4 separate regions of the Homo sapiens genome follow, and regions 1, 2 and 3 are each linked to region 4. Evidence: promoter capture Hi-C in 16 types of primary human blood cells and fetal thymus (Javierre and others, 2016). All regions are on one chromosome and are shown on one strand. The core of a region is centred on a gene start or on the middle of the fragment in contact, and the rest is flanking DNA. Distances in the headings are between cores, read along the strand shown. Region 1 holds the start of LNX2 (ligand of numb-protein X 2). Region 2 holds the start of PAN3 (poly(A) specific ribonuclease subunit PAN3). Region 3 holds the start of RNF6 (ring finger protein 6). Region 4 holds the start of HSPH1 (heat shock protein family H (Hsp110) member 1).

The links. Contacts are between HindIII fragments. The CHiCAGO score rates a contact against its expected background, and 5 or more counts as called.
Region 1: a contact is called between the fragment with the promoter of LNX2 here and a fragment that was not itself captured in region 4, in 1 of 17 cell types (fetal thymus). The highest score is 5.8, in fetal thymus.
Region 2: the fragment with the promoter of PAN3 here is called in contact with a fragment that was not itself captured in region 4 in 2 of 17 cell types (non-activated CD4 T cells and activated CD4 T cells); the score reaches 7.1 in non-activated CD4 T cells.
Region 3: the fragment with the promoter of RNF6 here is called in contact with a fragment that was not itself captured in region 4 in 2 of 17 cell types (total B cells and neutrophils); the score reaches 8.9 in total B cells.

Annotation. Positions count from the first base shown.
Region 1 is chr13:27,616,596-27,621,778 of GRCh38, reverse strand. It overlaps LNX2 (ligand of numb-protein X 2), which reads left to right and starts at 1,250. Exons shown (of 10, transcript NM_153371.4): 1 at 1,250-1,404. It also overlaps a transcript of POLR1D not described here. RefSeq lists silencers at 1-190, 811-1,700 and an enhancer at 494-1,222. The HindIII fragment of the contact is 4,924 bases long and covers 1-2,521 here.
Region 2 is chr13:28,135,858-28,141,339 of GRCh38, reverse strand. It overlaps PAN3 (poly(A) specific ribonuclease subunit PAN3), which reads right to left and starts at 2,795. Exons shown (of 19, transcript NM_175854.8): 1 at 2,253-2,795. The coding sequence starts at 2,682. It overlaps PAN3-AS1 (PAN3 antisense RNA 1), which reads left to right and starts at 2,166. Exons shown (of 2, transcript NR_029383.1): 1 at 2,166-2,793; 2 at 2,935-4,497. RefSeq lists an enhancer at 1,754-2,048 and silencers at 2,131-2,530, 2,571-2,650, 2,841-2,950. The HindIII fragment of the contact is 2,991 bases long and covers 1,106-4,096 here.
Region 3 is chr13:26,218,603-26,224,454 of GRCh38, reverse strand. RNF6 (ring finger protein 6) reads left to right here and starts at 2,141. Exons shown (of 5, transcript NM_005977.4): 1 at 2,141-2,452; 2 at 3,125-3,207; 3 at 4,788-4,998; 4 at 5,849-5,852. The coding sequence starts at 4,806. RefSeq lists enhancers at 2,081-2,460, 1,606-2,487, 2,488-3,369 and a silencer at 2,911-2,960. The HindIII fragment of the contact is 7,611 bases long and covers 1-4,216 here.
Region 4 is chr13:31,156,202-31,162,154 of GRCh38, reverse strand. HSPH1 (heat shock protein family H (Hsp110) member 1) reads left to right here and starts at 251. Exons shown (of 18, transcript NM_006644.4): 1 at 251-679; 2 at 3,292-3,349. The coding sequence starts at 573. RefSeq lists enhancers at 125-244, 375-454, 66-611, 612-1,157. The HindIII fragment of the contact is 798 bases long and covers 1,199-1,996 here.

The sequences.
Region 1 (5,183 bases), core at 1-2,500, 3.5 Mb after region 4:
GCGGGGTGAGCGGTGGCTCGCGGCCCCGCGGCTCACCTGGGCGACCACGCGAGGCCACTCGCGGCGGGAGGGGCAGGGGGCGGGGCCAGCGCCGCCTTACCCCGAGGCCCAGACAGGCCTGCGGGCGCCCCGGCTCAACTCTGGTACCTTTCCCCAGGTGATGGCGAAGGGGCGCGGCCTTACCTGCCGCCCCCAAATCACTTCCCTTCCCAGTGGCAAGTCCGAAAGCGGCCCGACTTCCCAACTGGGGCGGTGTTGACCCAGGATGGCCCTTCCTGGGACCCCGGCCCTCCCGGGCCTTTTGTGGGACGACAGGCTTAAACTGTAGTCGGTCAACACACCTTGAAGAGGGAGGGGGGTCACGTGCGAGATGAGTCACCACAGAATACGAAGGTTGAAGGCGGTATTTGTTTCACCGGGGAGCTTGCAGTTGCATTTTCAACTGGGTCAAAATAGGGCAAGAAAGAAATGTCTCTTTTGGGGGAGTGAGAGTTTGGGAGAAAACTGTTTCCCACCTTATCCTTTCCGTCCTAGGATTCCTTCTACCCCCAGAGCGCGTCCTCTCCGGCTGTAGACTTCCTTTTCCCTTTCTCCCCAGTGGCTCCTCAAACCTCCTCACCTGCGGAACCCGCCCTCACCTTTGTTCCCAGGCGCCCAGCCCCCGCCTCGGCAACCTTTCGCCGCCCAGGCTCGCTCTCCATCCAGCTCCCTGCGTCCCGGCCTTCGCTGTGCTCCCTCAGGTGCGCTTCCTCTCGAATCGGCCCTTCTTGTCCCCTCGCCGCTGGCCCCGACCCTGCCCGACTCCAGCTGTCCAGCGCAACTACGTTTCTGCTTCCCTGCGCCACCTGTTCTCCTGGCCTCCCCCCACCCCGCCCCGCGATTCCTCTGGATGTTCACTCCTTCCCCAGCTGTGCCACTCTTGGCGGCGGCCGGGGGTGCGCGCAGACACCTAGCCAGCGGGGCTTCCGCAGGGGAATCAGGCGGGCGGCGGGGACAGCCCGGGGCGAGTGGGGGAGGCGGGCGGCGAGGGCGGAGTGGTCTCACTCTAACCCGGGAGTGACGGGTCCCTTCTGGCCCGCCTCCCGAGCTCTCGGATAGGTGGAGCCGCCCTCTGGTCCGCCCACCTCCCGCCCTGTGCTACCTCCGATTGGCCCGGGTGCGGGTTGGGCCGCTCGGCCTTGGCGCTGCCCCCGGGAAGGCAGCAGGGGCGGTTGAGAAGTGAAGTCTTGGCCGGAGTTTGCTTTTTGCCAGGAAATCCGCGGCGGCGGCGGCGGCGGCGGCGATTCCTGGCGGAGCGGAGCCGGGCAGGCTCTCCGCTCCCTCAGCGGGCCGCGGAGAGCGGGAGCTGGTGCCGAGCAGCGGCGCCAGGAGCCCGTGCGCGGCCCGGGCAGCCGCGCTTTCCCAGTGAGTAACTTTGCCCTGCCCGCCTCGCTGCGCGCCCTCTCGCTGGCTGCGGGCAGCCGCCTCAGGTGCGGGCGTCAGCTGGGTGTGGGTCAGCGCCGCGCCCCGGGAGGCGGCCGGAGCGGCGCCACAGCTCGCCCCGGAGCCTTGGTCCTTCGCGGCTGTCTTCGCTCGCCCGGGCTGCGGGGCTGGCGTGGACTCGGGTGTGGGTCTGGTCCAGGAGGGAGAGTCGGCGCCCGGTGCCCGCCGCCTGCAGGCGCCCGGGAGGCGGGCGGCCTCCGGCTGTTAGCGTTTGCTGGTTCCGGCCACCGTGGTGCAGAGCTTGGCGTCGTTTGCTTCTTAAGGGAAGGGAGAGGTGGGGTGAGTGTTTAAATTTCCTCTGTGTGTGTGTGGTGTCGGCAATGAGAGTGGCACTAGCTGCCTTTATCGGGTTTTGTTCTCTGGAAAGGGATGGGGAGAGATCATTCCCTCCGCCCCAGCCTGTTGCCTGTGAATTCTCACCTTTCTCTTTAGGCTGGAGAGGGTGGGAGAGAGATTTGACATCTTCCAGGGGGTAATTTAAAAATATGAATCTTGATTTGGAAGCAGTTGCACACAAAGCATCATTCAGGAAATACATCACTCGCTTTTCAAAGCTGTATGCCACGTTTTAAACAAGGACTTTTGACTCATGTAGTGTTTCTTTTAGTATTTCAGTTTACGTTAAGTTTATGAATCCAGACGTTCGTTTGTACCAGGAGCTAAAGTACACTTATGCATGGGCTTTGCTGTGTATATTATGCTTTTTAAAATCACAGAAATCAGAAACAAAGTTGAGTGAAAAGCGGTGGCGGTGCAGGAGGAGGAACACTTGTGAGCTCCAGCTTATTGGAACTGCCTTTAAGAATTTCACATTCTTGCGGCAATAGTACTTACTTGTAAATTGGCCTTCTTCCCAGGACAGGTTTTGATATTTCTTTTGCATGTACTTCGATGCAGCACTAATGAAGTTGGATCTCAGTAGATCAATTTTATTTACTTTGCTAGATTTGATTCCCACCCCCACACCTCTTTAGAAAATGGACTTTGGCAGGTAAAGAAGGAAGCGGGAATCTGGTATCCTTTTTGGCTTGTCAAAGCTTTGTTGAGCCATGAATAACAAAGTTTTGGCTTTTTAGCTTGTCCGAGTCCCACATGTGAGTTTTCCCATGGGGTAAAAGTAGGCCAAATGAGAACCAAAGTAGAATAACATCACTTTTAATTCGGCCCACTTGTGTGTTACATTCTCCATATATCTTGTTTCTCTCATCAACTTTGAAATTTTTTCATTATTTATTCATTTAGCCACTGATAAAGTACCTACTGCATGCCAGCCATTGATGGCGGGGGTTGCTTCTTGCCCAGTTTTCTCATTTGGAAACTGATCCATGCCTTTATCCCACTAGTTACCCTGAAGTAATTTGAACTTAGGGAGCATTTCTGCCTGGAGACCTGTAAGAATAGGTGTTACGTAGGCACTTAGTCTTCAGATTGGTTTGGGATTTCGTACATTGTAGGCACGTAGCACGCAGGCCACTTAAAAATAAATGTATGTGTCTTTGGGCTGTTGTATTACGAGCTTTGCATATGGGCTTGTCTGGCCGAAGGACCCAGTGTCCGAGGTGGAGGTAGTAGTCAGGGACATGTATTATTCATTTCAGAACACTTGGCACCTTTTCTTGCTTACATTGGGCACTAAAATATTTACTGAATTGACTTGAACAGAAAAATGAAGGATTTTTTATACCAGATTAAGAAATTTGGACTTTATCCAGTCAGTGATACTGAGCTGCTAATTTTAAGCAGGAGAATGTCATGATAACGGGTAAGCATTCCAGAAAGATATCTGCAGCGTCTGGAGGATGGTGGGCTTCCAGATGGGCGATATGGAGACTAAGTTGGAGGCTGTTCTAATGGAGGGGTTAAGTGCTCAGGGATTCTCTATTCAGATTACCTGGGGTGGAATCAGGCTCTGTCATACACTGAAACCTCTTTGTTCCTTAGGTTTGTCATCTCAGAGTTTGGGGGATAGAACTTGAAAAAACATGTCTATTACTTAGAATAGTGATTGCCAGATAGTAAGGACTTAGTAAATGCTAGTGTGCTGGCAGTGGAAGGAGAAATGACGTGGTGTTTAAGAGGTATGACTAGGAGGCTGGACTAGGTAAGTGACTGGGTAGGCTTAAGGAGGGAAGGATGAATCCTGGGTTGTTTGACTTCAGGCATTGATTGACATGTACTGGGTAAGCTGGCTGTGAAATTAAAACGGGTCAAATTCTAATTCTATTACTTACCCTTAGAATAACTATCCTGACAGAACTTTGATTTCCTAACATTTGGGAAATGATTGTCGTACCTGTTGAGTAGGGTTTGAGGAATTATGCATGTAATGCCTTTGGCAGGGTACCTAGCACATTCCAAGTGCTCAGTAAATATTAGTTGTTCCTTTAGATGATGACATTAATGAGCTAGTGGAATGTTGGAGGATATGAGAAGGAGCAGTTAAAAACAATTGATGGTAGAGGTGTAGAAGGGAAGATAAGTTCAGTTTTGGACTAATCTAAGGAGGTGCTAAATGGATGGTTGAGAGATCCATGATGCAGTTGTTGGATAGTTGTGTCTCACAGGAGCTAGGAAAGAATAGAAAAGAAAAAGAGTTCACAGAAAGGCTTTATGAGTATGGTAAGCTTTATGAGAGATTTAGAGGAAGGGGAGGGTGAAGGGGTTCACAGTGGAGCGATATCAGAAGTGTTGACATTGAATATTAGGCATTTCTATCCTTAAAATATATTTTGGCCACCATCAAAGAAAGGAGGACTCCAGGCTCTTGTAATCTGGTTGGCTCTTTGGCCTTCTTCCCCTCTTCTTTCTTTCCTTTACAATTGCCACCCGATATCTTTAAATTGTATTATGAGGAACTATTTAACTTTCCTTCCTGCTTACAGGGCTAGAGTTCACAGGCCCACCTTCCTCTATCCAAATGCATCTAGGTTTTTAAAAAAGAATCACAGGTCTCATTTCATAGGTTCTCCTCTATTTAGGAAGCAGTGTTGTTTGAAAAAGTAATACATATGTATCTTGCATGTAGAATTAGAAGACTGGGGCAGGCCTACCTAAATTGACCCTGTAGGAGGGCCTGAGAGTCTTACAAAAGACATCCCTTTTAGCTTTCCTGGCACCTGTTTCTTTTCCTCAGAAAATACAAAGCAGTAGGAAAATCTGTGGTTAATAAGTTATTTTGTTTGGTTGGATTCAGAAAAGGTGGCTATTTTGTGTATTAGCCTTCTAAGAAGTTATTAAGAGGAATTTTTTGGCCAGGTGCAGTGACTCACGCTTATAATTCTAGCACTTTGGGAGGCTGAGGCGGGCGATCACGAGGTCAGGAGTTCAAGACCAGCCTGGCCAACACAGTGAAACCCTGTCTCTACTAAAAATACGAAAATTAGCTGGGCGTGGTGGCAGGTGCCTGTAATCCCAGCTACTCAGGAGGCTGAGGCAGGAGAAATCGCTTGAACCCGGGAGCTAGAGGTTTCAGTGAGCTGAGATTGCGCCACTGCGCTCCAGCCTGGGTGATAGAGCTAGACTCCATCTCAAAAAAGGAATTTTTTAACAAGCAAGTGCTCATGACATTACAATAATAAATTGTCCTCTAGTTAGTATGCTTTTAAAGAAGCAGGTGTTGTAGGTTCTATCCTTTAGAATGTGTGCTTCCTAGAGCTGGGATCCTATCTATTTTGCTAACTGCAGAATCCCTAAGTACTTAA
Region 2 (5,482 bases), core at 1,546-4,045, 3.0 Mb after region 4:
AGTCTAACACCAGCATTTTAAAAAGTGCCTCTTTCTGGCCAGCACAGTGGCTCACACCTGTAATCCCAGCACTTTGGGAGGCCGAGGCGGGACGATCACCTGAGGTCAGGAGTTCGAGACCCACCTGGCCAACATGGCGAAACCCCGTCTCTACTAAAAATACAAAAATAAGCCGGTCGTGGTGGCGCATGCCTGTAAAACCCAGCTACTTGGGAGGCTGAGGCAGGAGAATTGCTTGAACCTGGGAGGTGGAGGTTGCTGTGAGCCGAGATCGCACCACTGCACTTCAGCCTGGACGACAAGCAAGCCTCCGTCTCAAAAAAAAAAAAAAAAAAAGTGTCTCTTTCTGTCAGTAAGAAAACTATTGTTCAGTGTCATTGGTTACTAATCAAACATTACTACTGAGTCACGACTCACACATCCAGCAAAACTTTAACCTGAAAATGCAAAGTTGATGCTCGAAAGTGATAAAATTCCACCCATAAGTAACCATTTGTTTTACAAAACATCTGAATTTACAAAATTAATTTTCTTAGCATTATCAGCCTTAGCAAATATATCTTCATTAAAGTCAAGCCCATCACAACAAATGAAACACTTCTATAAAAGAAAAAGAAAGAAGAGAGAAAGGAGAAAAGAACAGAACAGAACAACACTTGGCCCAGCATGGTGCCTCACTCCTGTAATCCCAGCACTTTGGGAGGCCCAGGCAGGAAGATCGCTTGAGCCCAGGAGTTCCAGGCCAGCTTGGGCAACATAGGAAGATCCCGTCTCGAAAGAAAAAGCAAGAAAGCAAAACCCCGGGGAAGATATTAAATAATCCTCATAGACCAATTAAATGCTAAAACTTCCTATCAGGTTCATTAACAGTGTTTAAGAAAAAGACAAAATGTTCTCATGTACAAATTGAACTGCCTATCAGATTATTTTAAGATCTAGTTCTCCAGAATTCCCAAGAAAGTAGGACTCCTATTTGGTTTAGAAACGCTCAATATACTAAGAAACAAAACAGGGACATCTGGCACCGGCTCTATTCGTAAAGGCAACATTCTCTAACAGATTACGCTCACATTCAATTGTAAACTCCACTAACAACTAACAAGCTTCAGGTCAATAGATAACAACACACTGAGAGGCTGAGGAGGACAGATCACTTGAGGCCAGCAGTTTGAGACCAGCCTGGCCAACACAACGAGACTACTATCTCAACTAAAACTACAAAAAATTATCTGGCCGTGGTGGCGCGCGCCTGTAGTCCCAGCTACTCCGTAGGCAGAGGCAACAGAATCGCTTGAACTCGGGAGGCGGAGGTTGCAGTGAGCTGAGATCGCGCAACTGCACTCCAGCCTGAGCGACAGGGCGAGACTCTCTCCAAAACAACAACAACAACAACAACAACAACACATGAAAAAGAAATATAAACAGCCTTAAGATGTCCCCACCCAAGTGCTCAGTCGCACATAAACGCAGGCTGCACATGACATGCATTCAAGACACAATGCTGAGTTTGCTTGATACAAAGCTATAGAAGACAGGATCCCAGCTGACACCAGCAAACTTATTCTAGCTTTCAGGGAAACTCAGATGAAATGCGTCTTTGTGAAATCCCTACTCTAAACTCTCGATTAAACCTGAGCACACTTTGAACGCGACAGTCCGCTCCCTCCTAATCCTTAGAAAGCATTTCCTGCCTGCAAAACCTTTCTCCCGCAAGCCTTCTACAAACTTTTTCCGTTCTTTCAACCTACTCCACGAAGCCTTAAGCCCGCCCCTCACCTCCCGCCCCCTACACACACACACACACACACACACACACACACACACAAACACACCCCTCCCCACTAGGGAACCTCAACACTCTGCAGACGCCACTCCACAAGGACACGCAAAACACATGTGCCTGCAAACCCAGCCCCTTTCCACACCCCCCGGAAACGACACCCCCTTTCTCACACTCCGCACGCCACAGCCCATCCCCCTTCCTCCCCGCCCCCCCTTCACATCACCCCAGTCCTCCCACCCACGTTCCCGGGAACCCAACCTCCCCGCGCTCTCCGACTTGCCGAAGGCAGTGGGGAGGGGAAGCAGGAAGAAGGAAGGAGGGCTCAGGCCCGGCCTAGGCCTCTCAGACCGCCTTGGGAGGTGAGGGGGGGAGCCCGCGGGCCGTGCTCAGCTCCCGTCGGCAGCAGGGCCTCATCCGGCCCAGGCCTGCCCTCCGCCGCCGCGGCCCGCCCCGCCCGAAAAACACTCACTTGCCAGCCGCGGTCCATCGAGTCCCCCGCTACTGCCTCCTCCGCCGGCTGCGGCTCCGGTCCCCGGGTCCCCCAGGTCCGGCTTCTTGGGCCCGGGGGGCGGCCCAGCTCCCCCGCCCGCGACGGCTCCCGGCGGAAAGCCGGCCACGGGTGCACCAGCCAGAGCCAGGGGGACGCTGTTGCTATGGAGGCCGAGGCCCGGGGCAGCCCCGGCGGCAGGGTCCTCATGCAGGAACTGACACTCCTCCCCGTAGAAGCAAGTCTTATCCTTAGCGTAGTAGCGGCAGTACTTCAGCTTCACTCCTACCGCCGCCCCGCCGGGGACACCCCCGACCCCCGGCGGGGCCACCACCGCCACCGCCGCCGCCAGCGAGGAGGAGGAAGGGGAGGCGGCGGCCGAGGGGGGCGGGAGGCCGCCGCCACTGTTCATGGCAACGCCGCAGCCTCGTCTTCCGCCGCCGCCCGAGGAGCCGCCGCCGCCACCACCATAGACGGGGGAGGAAAGGAAGACGCTGCCGGTGCCGGATAAAAGCCTGGGCGGGTGGGTCTGTCCCGCTGCGGGAGCCGGAGCCGCCCGGGGAGAAGGGGGAGGGGAGAGGGGAGGGAGGAGGGGGTAGAAGGAGGGAGGGTAGGGGGAGAGTTGGGATTCTCTCACTCACTCTCTCGTTCTCTTTTCTTAAAGGGGCCGCGCGGGACGACGGGGTGAGCGCGCGGGCCCAGACGGGGACTTCGAGGGCGCGGGCAGGGGAAGAGGGAGCGGCAGCGGCAAGCGGGTGGGGAAGGCGGAGGGGCCGGTTTATTTTTAAATTCTGCCTCCACTCGCTCTCTCGCGCTCTGGTTCCTCCGAGTTGTTTATTCCATTTTCCTCTTCCTGAGACGGCCGTCGCCGCTGCGCGTGCGCGCTGAGACGCGAGGGCTTATGGGTAGCGGGAGCGCTAGGGGAAGCCTGGCCGGCGTCGGGCCCCCGGGGGCATCCGCGAGCTATCGGCGGTTGGACCGGCGGCTCTCGGTGGGGTTCCGGACGCGGATCTGGCGCCGAATTCTCACGAGACCTGATACCTTCCTTATTTGTATATTCTCTTACTTAAAAAGCCAGATGTCTTTTTTTTTTTTTTCATTGAAAAGAGAAAATTGACAAGGTAAACGGTCGTTTGGAGGGGCCACCTGGGGACGCGGCCCGAGCCCTGGCTCTACCTGAAGAATATCTTCTATTTGCCACACTTCCTCTCCCCGTTTCCTTTCTTCGCCCCTCTCCTCTTTCCCCTTCCCCTCGAAGGTAATGAGAACTACTGGACCGATTACGCTAACCTCTTGGCCCTTTGTCAAAAAATGGAGCCAAAAAGGTTGATTTAGACAGACCCCCTGCTCAGTGCAGCACCTGTTATTCTCTGTATTTATATTACCAAGGGCCTTCGGTAAATTATGAAAAATAGGATGCCACCTGGGACAACACTGCTTAGACAGCACTGGAAGACCTTTATAAATATACTAGGTTGCTTTTCTCCAATCAGCCTAGCCTTGATTTGAAATTCATTTTTATTTTTTTTGAGACGGTGAAATTCATTTTTAAAAGATAGTTTTAACCTCAGCGATCTCTGATGTTTGCGCTAATACCCTTTTAAAGGCTTTCAGAAATTTTAAAGAATTGCTATGAAAGGAAAAGTAACATTCTAGTTTTTCTCTGTAAAAGAGGTTCACAAACGGCAGATCGCTGTTATGAAAAGGAGGGGTGGAAGTATTTAAGGAATTGTGGCAAACAAAGTCACAGAAGAATGGATATAAGCAAAAGTAGCACACTGAAAAAAATGGGGAAAAGTGGAGTCTAGATCACAAACTGGTAAGCTTGGTGATGTTCTCTAGCCAAATTCGAAGGTAATAACATTGTATTATGGCTTTCTGTTTAAAAGCAGTTTCGCTTATTTGATTATTCAACAAATCTTTATTAACACGCATTACGTGTACCAGAAACTGTGGTACACTTAACTGTGGAGCTGGGGAAGCAAAAGTGAACATGCCGCCTTAAGTGAGTTCAGATGGCTTATCTTCCGGTTGGGGAGGCATCAAGTACACAGGTCCGTTGTAAACCAGTGTCTTAAGTGCTAACCTTATCACATTTGCTATTAGAGGATATTAAACATGTCAGACTTCTTGGAGAAAGTTGATATTTTCATGTTCCAAGTTTGGGAACATCATTGAATTCAGACAGATCTGGATTGAAACAGATTAAAGTGCCTACACTTTAATAGCTGTGTTCCTCTCAGTTAATTGCTTCATTTCTCTGTGCCTTGTCTGTACACCTGGATTAAGAATAGTACCTACTTCATAAAGTATAACTAATAATGTATATAAACTGTCCCATGCCTAATAAGAATTCGGTAGGTTGTAACTATTATTAATAGTATTGGCCAGGCGCAGTGGCTCACGCCTGTAATCCCAGCACTTTGGGAGGCCAAGGCGGGTGGATCACCTGAGATCAGGAGTTCGAGACCAGTCTGGCCAACCTGGTAAAACACCGTCTCTACAAAAATACAAAAAAATTACTGGGCGTGGTGGCGAGCGCCTGTGATCCCAGCTACTGGGGAGGCTGAGACATAAGAATCACTTGAACCTGGGAAGCAGAGGTTGCAGTGAGCCGAGATCTCGTCATTGCACGCCAGCCTGGGCGACAGAGCGAGACTCCATCTCGAAAAAAAAGTAGTATTGCTGCTAGTGGTAGTCAGTGTATAGTCAAAGAGCATTCTAGGCAAACAGCTTTTATTGTTAGAATACAGTGATAGTGGAAAATGGAGCAGAGTCCACAAAAGTCCTTGTAGGGCCATGTTAAAGAATTGAACTTTTGGCCAGGCGCAGTGGCTCACGCCTGTAATCCCAGCACTTTGGGAGGCTGAGGCGAGCAGATCACGAGGTCAGGAGTTCAAGACCAGCCTGGCCAACATGGTGAAACCCCCGTCTCTGCTAAAAATACAAAAATTAGCTGGGTGTGGTAGCAGGCACCTGTAATCTCACCTACTCGGGAGGCTGAGACAGAAGAATTGCTTGAACCCGGGAGGCAGAGGTTGCAGTGAGATCGCACCACTGCACTCTAGCCTGGGCGACAGAGCAAGGCTCCATCTCAAAAAAAAAAAAAAGAATTGAACTTTTTCTTGAGGACAATTGGAAGTTATTACAGGGTTTTTAAAAGTCAACATGGCAGGGCACAGTGGCTCACACCTCTAACCTCACTGCTTTGG
Region 3 (5,852 bases), core at 892-3,391, 4.9 Mb after region 4:
TACACACTACAAAGGCCAGGTACCAATCCAATAAACAGAAATTAATTAGACCAGAGACCTTGGCAGGTTCTGAGACCTGGAGTAGATATCCAGAATGATTCATCTGTCTGTTCCAGCTGTTGTATCTAAGCCCCTCTTTGTAGTCATTTTGTCTTGGACTACAAAAACTGAAGCAAGGTGTTGGATTCAAGTTACATACATTACCTGATTCTCTACTCACAAAAACCTGCAACTTCCTACCTGGTAAATCACTTGATTGGATTTTTATTTAGACATTTTTATAATAGTTTTTTTTTTATTCTTAGGGTATATAATAGGAAATAGGAAAAATAGGAAGAGACACATATGTCTTTTCCACTCAACATGTAAAAAGTATTTGCACTTGGATTATTGCATTTGATTGCACTCTCCAAAATTCACAGATATTAAAAATGATTTCTACTTGTTATTTTCTATGATGTGTGTTCACAATATCTGAAGTCGTTGTACTGTGTGCATTAATCCCGTTTGCCAAAAGATTGCATTTTTCTCTGCTCATCTATGCAGTAGGCTGAGGAGAATGTTCTGCCAAGTGCTGTGCTAAGTTCTGGGATTACAAAAATGAATTAGACCATTTGATCACACTTAAGCAGTTCAGACTCTAGGTAGTAAAGACCTAAAAACAGAAAATCATCTTAAGTATTTGCTCAATGGCTCTTTTTCCATGGGAAAAGAGGGCAAGGACTTCATTCTATGAGGACATGACTGTCTGATTCACGGCTGTCATCACCAGCACCTAATACATAGTCACACTCACTATTTGTTAAATACATGAATACATGCTAAAATAGGGTTTTATATATAGAGGGAGTATGGGAGCCCCCAAAAGGGACATTTGCTTAGTTTTATGTGTAAATATCGGGCTGGAGGGTGAGGTAAGGGTGTTATTTCAGAGGTATCAGGAAAAATTCCTTAAAGATGAGAACTGAGCTGAGTTTTGGGAGACAGAGGAAATTAGGTAAAAGTGGAGTTGGGGGTTGCTTAGGAGTTCCCATATCTTGTGGCGGAACTTCAAGCAGTTTCGGAGTGCCAAGACAACAGCCTGTAAATGTAAGCAGAAGAAAGATCTGGAAGGGCTTTCTAGGCTGTTTTATATATTTCCATTTTAGTATCCATATCCATATGCTTATTTTAAACACTTGTCCATAGATCCTTACTACACTGGTAGCTCATTGATGCTAAGGACTGCATGTAGCTTGTTATCCAGGTGCCCAGCATAATAATGGGGATATGGTAGTTCCTCAAAAGTTAATGCAGAAATGAAAGAACAAACGGAAGAATAACAAGTAACGGCATTGTGAGCACTCTCCAGTGATGAAGTCATCAGATGGTAGGGATGTCAGGAAAGGGGACTATACCAGGTTAGACAGAGACCTACTCAGCATCTTAACTAACGGTGAGGTAAGTTTAGTAAGCCTCACATCTCAGAAATAAAATCAGAGGGAGGAATGTTGGGAGTTTCAAACTGCTTTCCTAGCGGGAAGGTGAAAAAACACAAAATATAGTGGGGTGCGGTGCCTCATGCCTGTAATCCCATTTTGCTGAGGTGAGAGGATTGCTTGAGGCCGAGTACGAAACCAGCCTGGGCAACATAGCGAGACCCCCGTCTCTACAAAAGAAAAAATGTGAAATTAATGGCAAGCGCCTGTAGTTCCAGCTACTGGGATGAGGAGGGAGGATCGCTGGAGGCTGCAGTGAGCTACGATCGCTCTAGCCTGGGCGACAGGATGAGACCTTGTCTCAAATAGAGATAGACAGACAGACAGACTTCAGAATTTATTAGGGTTTGTAATTTCCAGGTTCCAAAGCACAGCAAGGGAAAGGGCCTGGCTGGGTAGTACGTTACACCCGGAAGTAAAGAGACGCATACACCGTTGGGTGCACTTTATAGTCTGGCTGGCAAACGAGCGACACCGACGCGCAGAGTTAAGTGCTGGGACTTCCCAAGCCTGGAAAGCAGACCGTGTCTCTGCAACTACGCGGCTGCCACGAGCGCTGAGCGGCCGGGCATTTGGCCTCGAGGAGGAGGCACTGTAAGGGCGGCGCAAGAGGGCGGAACGCGGGACGCCAGGCACCCTAGCTCCCGACGGACGCAGTTTTCAGTTGCACGGGCGAGCTCCGGGCCGGCTGCGGAGCGACTCCCCGCCGCCAAGTGGGCGGCGTGGCTGTCGGGAAAGAAGGGCTGGGGCCTGCCGTTCTTCCTCCCGAGTATCCCCTCCAGCTGGACGACCCCACGCTGCAGCACGGGCTTCCGGCTTCTCTCCTCAGTGGCCAATTCGAGGGCACAGCGGGCTCCGGAGGCGCGGCGGCAAGCCTATCCCGCCTCCCAACCACAGCCTCCAGCACCCGAGAGAACGGCCGCCCACAGCACACGTTCTCCGGACAGGAGGGCGAAGGCCCAAGACCTGGAGAGGTGGGCTCGAGGGAAAGATCTGGGTCCCACCACTACTTCCTGGAGACGCCGGGGAAAGCAGGCCATCCTTCGAGCCACCCATCTCTTCTCCGATTGGTTAACTGCCTTCTTATTGCGCTCCGCTGGCTGGTGATTGGTTGGGATGCACCGTCTATCACCTGCTTCCTTGTGAGAATCTAGGTCTCTAAGGGAAGCGTTACTTGAGGCTCGGTTGGGAAGAGGTTGGTTGGGCCTCTTGAGCCCACTTTATTTATCGTAGTGGGGATCGTCCCCCGGCGCGAGCTTCCGTCGCAACGGCCGGGAAAGAAACCAGTAGCGGGACGGAGGGCGGGGGTGGCAAGAAAGTCAAGGTTTAGAAGTAAGCCGGAGACGCCTAACCCTGGTAACATCCGAATGGGAACGGGATAGGAAGGAAGGCCTTTGAGAGAGGAGGCGTAAACCCAGGAACAGTGACAGTGTAGGACGAAAGGCCTAAGTTTGTTGCGGAAGGTAGGGGCCTTGCGGGAGGTTTTCGTGACCTAATTGTATGGGGATCTAATTTTCTAGATGTGTCTAACAAAATCCACTGGAGAATTTGCTTTGGCTTTGCAGCAGAGTGGGGAGACTACCACCCGTTCCTGGCCTTTAAAGAAACAGTTTATTGAATTATTCAACTCTCTTTTATTGCTTCAGATGGGCAGCTCTCAAAAAAGGCACAAACAATTGAAGGATGGATACCATGGCATATGTTAAAAGCGTGTTGAAAGGAAAATAAGGTATTCGCTTTGTTTTCATTGTGATTAACTGTATAAGAAAATTACCTTTAAGGAGAAGCTCAAGTTTTAAATAATATTAGGGTAACTTGATTTTATGATAGGCTTCAACTTGTAAAATTATTTATTACAAAAATCCTATTATTGCTGTACCTACGAAATATGCTCTTTGCTAATTATGGTCTTAATCTGAAGATAGAGATCTTGAGTTTTTAGTAGTGTTAATTCATATTTGAGTGGATAATGTTACTAGGTCATTTGTTCAAAATGACATAATAAAATAACCACAGTGAAAAAAATCCTTGAATTTGTAATTTAGTGTTACAGGTGAAATTGAATAGTTGCTTACTCCAACAGTATTTTAGACTTGTAGGCTAATTTCACCTTATATTTAAAGCAGCTTGCTTATTAAATACCTAGTGTATTTCGAGAGGCAGAGTTGCACAGTTGCTTCACTGGTAGCCTAGCCATTTGAGCCTCCAGCCTCTACTGAGTCAGGTGCTGTATTACTCATACCCTTTAGTGACATGCCAGAAATTGTCGAGGAATAGTTTATTTCATCTGCAGAACACCCAAATTAGCTCTTAACAGCAGACCTGGTCCTACCCTGGAAAACTCTAATCAAGGATTGGGGATGAGATTTGGGCATCTAGATTTTTAAAAATACCCTTAAGTGAGTTTGAGAACCATTGCTTTAGTGTGACTTACTGAATAGATGTATTTAAGAAATTCTAAAATATTTGTGAAACAAACATCTTTCTCTCTTGATTTCCATGTAATTTAAAAGTGAGCTTCTCAGGAGTGACACTTAAATATAATCCAAAAATAGTGGTTTCTTAGGCAAAGTCAGGAAGTTTCACTGGCATTCTGAAACTCCTGGGACTAACCATTCCAGGCTTAAGGATGAGGCTTGATATGGGGTGATACAAAGTGCTCTGATGCACTTTCACAATCCTTGAGCCATACATGATGTCTTGTTTCCTGTTGGGTTTCAAAGTCTTCCTGGTAAGCTTTAATAAGAGACCACCTTCCAGTTTGTTCAGTAGATATTAATTAGGCTAAATGATTTTCACCTCATCAAAGTGCAGTGGGGGATAATATTACATTCATGAGCCTTATTTTGGAAAGAATACCTTGCTGAAAACAAATGTAAATTATATCATCCCAGTATCCCTTTGCTCATTAAGTGAAGAATGTGCATAATTCAAGCCTAAAATTTGTAATTAATGTGAAGTACCCAGATCCTGAAACATAAATGAGGACTTCTGGATCAACTTTTCCAGATCGTCAACATGGTCAAAAATGAGATAATCACTATGGTATTCAGGCATGAGCATTGTGTGGTAAACCCAAATCCAGTCTGACTTAATGGCTTTAGGCAAAGAAGTAAGTGCCAATTGTGTTGTATTTCCTAGAAGCTGTTTTTCATTTTATATGTAAGCTTCTCACTGCAAGATTTGGCAAATACAGTATTTGGGTAGGGGACAACATTTAAAAATTAAGAAAAACTGCAAGTTAAAAATACAAAGCCAAATGTGGTCCATGACTTAACACCTTGAATGTTGTTTATATTGTTTGAACAGAAAGCCAGGAATCTCAGGATGAATCAGTCTAGATCGAGATCAGATGGTGGCAGTGAAGAAACCTTACCTCAAGACCATAATCATCATGAAAATGAGAGAAGATGGCAGCAAGAGCGTCTCCACAGAGAAGAGGCCTATTATCAGTTTATTAATGAACTCAATGATGAAGATTATCGGCTTATGAGAGACCATAATCTTTTAGGCACCCCTGGTAAGAGATGGGTAAAAGAGGAAACACCCTTTTTTCATCATTTAGATGGAAGGATTTCAAGATAAGGAGAATTGGTATTCTTTTTCCTTGCTTCTCTTTATGAAAATATAGTATATTGTTTTTGTGAGTTTAAGAACTTTTTAGTATAATAAAGTAGAAAATCACTGGCTTCTGTATTTTATAAGGTGAAAATAGGGGACATGGAGCACTATTATACAAATGCCAAACTAAGAAACAGGTTAATGTACATAATGGTGTTAAGTATTTACATATATGGTCCTATTTGTAATTTTTATACAAATAAAATATGACTTAAAACCCAATTTGAACTCATTTGGGGTATTATAATTTATTTATTCAGCTGAATTAATAGCTCCCCCCAAAGCCCAATGTGTTCCATAAAGTTTTTACAAATGAACTAATGGAAATTTGTATGTTTATATATTGTGTGTTTGTATATTGATGACCCATATAATGAAGTATTTGGGATAAAATTCAAGTAAATATTTGAAGTTTTCTCTATAAATGCTCCCTTAATTTCTTTTTAACTGACAAAAATCCACAGTTATAGCTTATAGATTCCTAAGTGTATCAACTGGCAGCACTTTACCAACTATTCAAATTAAATCTTATTTTAATAATTTTTAATAAAAGATTAATAAATGAAGCACAACCGAATTGATGCACATTTGTACCAGTTGAATATTTTTAACTGTCTTCAATTTACAGAACATATGAAAGTAATAAGACATTTGTCTTCTATAGGTTACTAAAGATTAGTCTTACCCTTCATGAGGTCTCATAAAACTTAATTCAGAATTCTTAAATGAGCAGTTTTTCATTGTTTTAGGAGA
Region 4 (5,953 bases), core at 348-2,847:
GGGCGGGAGTGGGCGGAGGCAGGTTTGAGCCAATGGCACGGGAGCGGCCCTGTCGCTGCCATGGCAACGGCGGCCGTTCTCCGGGGACCGGCTGCCCATTGGGTAGAATCTTTCCAGAAGGCTCGAGAAGAAGGAAGCGGAAGTGGCACGTGGAGGGGCCGGTGGAGGCGCCGGTGAGTAAATGCCGCAGATTCTGGAAAGTTCTGATCAGTGCGATACATAAGGCTGAGGAAGTGGGACCTCCCCTTTTGGGTCGGTAGTTCAGCGCCGGCGCCGGTGTGCGAGCCGCGGCAGAGTGAGGCAGGCAACCCGAGGTGCGGAGCGACCTGCGGAGGCTGAGCCCCGCTTTCTCCCAGGGTTTCTTATCAGCCAGCCGCCGCTGTCCCCGGGGGAGTAGGAGGCTCCTGACAGGCCGCGGCTGTCTGTGTGTCCTTCTGAGTGTCAGAGGAACGGCCAGACCCCGCGGGCCGGAGCAGAACGCGGCCAGGGCAGAAAGCGGCGGCAGGAGAAGCAGGCAGGGGGCCGGAGGACGCAGACCGAGACCCGAGGCGGAGGCGGACCGCGAGCCGGCCATGTCGGTGGTGGGGTTGGACGTGGGCTCGCAGAGCTGCTACATCGCGGTAGCCCGGGCCGGGGGCATCGAGACCATCGCCAATGAGTTCAGCGACCGGTGCACCCCGTAAGTGGGAGTCTGCGAGGGTGGATGGGAGGAGGTTCTGGGCCCTTAGTGTGGGGACCCAAGATCGCGGGCTGGCTGTACGGATCACCGCGGCAAACGGAGGCGTTTGGGCAGCGGCGCACCCCTCCGTGGAACTAGGGACCAGCGACCCGGCCAGAGGAGGGATGGGGGGCTTGCCATCACAAATTGGAGAAGGGATTGTCTCAGGGATTCACGGGGGTGAGAGGAGTCCCAGAGTCGAGACTCTAAGGGTCGTCACCTTGTGCGGGCTTCCTATTGGGGGTTTTCAAAACCTACTGGGGGTCGGGCTGCGGCAAAGCCCGCAACTTCGCTCCCTTTTCTTGGCAGGCTGCAGCCTGCGCCTTCCGCGGCCGCCCCCGTATCCCCACCCGGCCTCTCTGAGCTGGCTGAGCCGCCTCCAGCTTGTCCTCCTCCCTTCGCGCATATCTTTGCGCACCGCGGAGCGGGGCTGCCGGCCTTTTTCTTCCGCATTGTGAATCTCGAAATGAACTGGAAGCTTCCAGAGCTTGTGTCGCTGCTTGTCCAGTGAGCAGGCGGATTGTTGTTAGCGACCACGGAAGCAGTCCTATGAAAGATTAGCCCACCTCTTTTTACCCAGTCTCTTCGTTGCTAACATTGTTGGCCTTAATGCCCGGGATCATTGTCGAAAGATGTAAACGTCTTTTTTTTTGCTCTTTGCCATTCATGAGGAATTGTAAACCGTATTTTTAAAATTAATTTTGCACAGTTTATTTAAAAGAGAATAAAAATTGCATACTTTTGTGCTAGGACGCCAAAAGAGGATGGATGTCGTCACTGAACTAAATATTCTATAGGAGCATAGGGTGGGCAAAGGGCAACATTTTAAAAAGCAAGTTTCGTGAAGGGATATTTTCGGACGAGAATATATACAAACATATCTGCATGTGCATTGATGAAAACAAATGATTTCATCTCAAGGAAAATACTGTACCTATTAATTTTTTTCAAATGTCCCAAGCTCAGGATGAAAAGTGCAAAATGAAAACATTGAACCTAAAGGTAGAATGAATGACTGGGGTAATACAATTATTTGGGTGCTGAGAACGTTTATGAAAGTTGAGTGGAAAATCTGAGGCAAAATATTTGGCAATGTTAGTAACGTTAGGAAGACTGTTCTGAGCAACCTGTACGTCTACCCCTGCAGATCTAAGTTTGTGTTTTGGTTAAGGTTTTTTTAATTGGAGTTTAGTAAGAAAGAAAACAGTATTTCAGGCTTTCATGCCTAGATACAGTTTATACTTTGTTCTGGTTGATCCAATAAAACAAAGAAAAGCTTTTCAGAGAAGAGAGTGGGAAAAAAAATTGTGTTATACAGGGACTACTGTGTGAAATCAAAGACAACAGGTATGGCCCTGAAAAATGTGAACTGAGGGCAGTATTGGAGTTCCCCTTAATATGTTTGTTAAACTATAATTGTGGTGGATTCTATTGTATCAGCTACTAATTGTTATTTAGTACAATTAATTTGATTCTCCCCTAGGAAAATGAGTAGATCCATTCTGCAAGTGTATGGTTATTCAGAGCTTACAGTGATGCTCTGATTTTGACGGTTTCTTGTCTAGCTTCTGCTTGGACACTTCTCTGGCTTTTAGGATGCTATTTTATTTAACACTTGCTCAGATAATATAGTTTGAGGATGTTTCTATTATAGCAAATTTAAACTTAAGGGTGGTACTTAATGCCCTCAGTATTTTCCCGTTTTGCTCATCTCGTTTACCATTACTCATACCTAAGCAGGTAGGAGTAACTCACCCAAAATTAGATTATATTTGAATTAGTAATCCAGAATTAGATAACTCCTCTAATCCAAAACCTAATTCACTTACCTTCTTCTCACAAGACTTTTTAAGCTAGTCTCTGCTCTGTTATTGTGCGGTTCCATTTCCATGGTGGCTGAGAAGGTTGTTTCACAGTTGTAAGTCACTTTCCATCTCTTCAAAACAGATTTGATGTAACTGATTAGTCACTCCTTTCCCTCGACATTTATATTCTGTTTTGCCATGGTACTTGTTGTGCATCATTTTTTTCTTTCTCCGGCAGAATCTCCCAGATGGGAACCTCTTTGTGCTCTTTAAACTTCAGAGGTGTAACTTGGGTTCATTTGCTTGCGTTTGCATAAAAACTTTTGATTCCTAAAGAAGCCGGTGGTATATCAGAACAAAAGTCGGTATGACAATGACATTTAGATTTGTACAGAGTTGGTGACTGAAAGGTAGAGTCACATCCTATTTTTTGTTAGTCGTGTGTAGGGTCAAATTAATAATACCGTTAACATATTTAAAACATTTTCAAAGTTAATGTTCGGTTCATAATAACTGGAACCTGGAGAATTCCTGAGCCACGAGCAGAGGTTTTTGGGGTAGTAGAACTGCCACCTAGGTTGGATCTCAGAGCAGCAATTAAGTGGAAGCCCCCTTTGAGTATCTGATGAAAGCTATAGACCTTAAAATTGTGCTATGCTTGTTCCCTATCCCCTAATGGGTAGGACATTTATGTTAGTATTTTTCTCTTATCAGTTTAAAATATCAACCTTTATGCTTTTTAATTTTTTGGAATATATTTTTTTCTAGGTCAGTCATATCATTTGGATCAAAAAATAGAACAATCGGAGTTGCAGCCAAAAATCAGGTATGTTCTTTAAGAGAATTCGGATCACTTTTTAAGGGGGGAGTTTTTAAAAGGAAAATCTCAAGAGACATATAAGAGGGTAAAGTGTGCCTAAGTTTATGTATTTTTGAGTTTTAAAAATGTAATTCAAGTATTCTTTATGAACCTTCAGATGATGACACTCTTTCCTTTCTGTTCCCTTTCCCTTGTTTTATTAAGATCGACTTTAACTTTCTAATCTGCCATCCTTAACTTTTTTTTTTTTTTTTTTTTTTTTTGAGATAGAGTCTCGCTCTGTTACCCAGGCTAGAGTGCAGTGGCGCGATCTCGGCTCACTGCAACCTCCGCCTCCCGGGTTAAAGCGATTCTCCTGCCTCAGCCTCCTGAGTAGGTGGGATTACAGGCGCGTGTCACCACGCCCAGCTAGTTTTTGTATTTTTAGTGGAGATGGGGTTTCACCATGTTGGTCAGACTGATCTCGAACTCCTGAGCTCGTGATCCATCTGTCTCAGCCTCCCAAAGTGCTGGGATTACAGGTGTGAGCCTACGCCTGGCCTGCTGACTTTAACTTTTAGTAACTTTTTGCTGCCTTTCATTTATCTAATTTTTAGAAATTATAAACAAGGCATTTTAAGTTCTTGTGAAGTTTCTCGTGATACTCATTTAAGAGATTCCTTTTATAGAAGGAACTTCTAAGAAATTATGTGTTTAAAAGCATTTTCAGGTTACTTAGTAATTAAGGTAGGACTGGGAGAAATTTTTGTCCAGACCTGTGCTGTTTAAAAAATATGGTAGCCATGTACTGTATTGAGCATTTGAAATGTGGCTCGTCTGAATCAAAATGTGAAGTATAAAATACACATGAGATTTTTTACTTTTTAATCGAATTGAAAAGTAAAGTACGGTATCTGATCAATTTTTTTCTGTTGACTACTTATTGAAGTGATAGTTCCTAAAATATATTGGCCTAAGTTAATTGAAATTAATCTAATCTCTTACCAGTTTTTAACGTGGCTGCTACAAAATTTTATGTAGGTAGCTCTCCTTTATGACTTACATATAATTCTGTTGAACAGCACTGATCTAGACAGACCCCTTGGAGGTGGAGAGAAAAACAGTAAAAGATACGTGAAATGCTCTTTGAGAGGCTCTTTGAAATAAAAAACATTTTTCTAAATACAGAAAATAGATTGCTAAGAAAGAAAATTTTGGATTAGATTGAGTACTGTATTATATATTATGGAATGTATTTAGTACTGACCTATTAAAAAATCAGGTCAGATTTGAAAACAAAAACATCTCTTAAAATGCTTATGTTTAATAAGAAATTGGCACTTTATCAAACTTATGAATCTGCTTTCATTAGAAAATGGTTTCATGTTTTCTAATCCTTTGAATATGTAGGTTGGATTTAACTTTATTTCCTTGTTACATTGGAAGAGAGAGATAACTAAAAGGGGTGAAAAAGGAAAGGAGAAATAGGCACACTCAAAATATGTTCAAAAGGATAGTGGGACTTTAGTTGTAACAATCCTTTAAATGTGCCCATTGAGGATATTGATAGCCTAGACCTAAAATTCTGTTGCATCCTTGTGATTACTTGAGAAGAATCTGTTGAGACTCATATTTGGCCAGTATACTACTAGACATACTTCATCTCAGTTTTAGACACATAAGGAATTTTAAGACCTAAACTTGCTTGAATTCTATATTGTTTGAAAACTAGTACTGCCAAGCTAACTGTATTCTTCCCTTTATTCAAAAAATTAGGTAAGAGAAAAAGTAAATAATATACTGTTTTGGTATTTTTAAGCTAATAATTTCAGAAGTCTTAGTTTTCAATCTTACAGTTATTTCTTGTTTCAAATGAGGTACCCTTGAGTGAAATGTGCTCTGAAGTGGGGCTTTTCAATCTAGAGTTTACCTAAAATATTTGACCAAAACGGTGGATTAAAAAAACACCATCTTTTACAACAGTTTAACAAACGTGCGCCAGTTGTGTAAGATAGCAGTTCAATTTCTTGTTTTTAAAAACCATGGCTCTCAAGTCTTCAGAATACGCACATGCAGTTGAAAACATTAGGTCACTTAGAAACTTGTTGAATTACTCTTCTGCCTTCTACTTTTTGGTGTAGATAACTAGCATTTCATGCTATTGCTAGGAAAGGTAGCGATCCATGCATTTTCTGGCACAGAGTGTTTATCCTGGCCGCTTAGCAATTTATTAGACTATAAAAATTAACTTTAATTTTTTTTTTTTTTGAGAATGAGTTTCACCCTTGTTACCCAAGCTAGAGTGCAATGGCACTATCTTGGCTCACTGCAACTTCTGCCTCCCAGGTTCCAGCGATTCTCCTGCCTCAGCCTCTCAATTAGCTGGGATTACAGGCATGTGCTGCCATGCCCAGCTATAAAAATTAACTTTTTTTTTTGTTTTGAGACGGAATCTCGCTCTGTCGCCCAGGCTGGAGTGCAGTGACACGATCTTGGCTCACTGCAAGCTCCGCCTCCTGGGTTCATGCCATTCTCCTGCCTCAGCCTCCCGAGTAGCTGGGACTGCAGGTGCCCGCAACCACGCCCGGCTAATTTTTTGTATTTTTAGTAGAGACGGGGTTTCACCGTGTT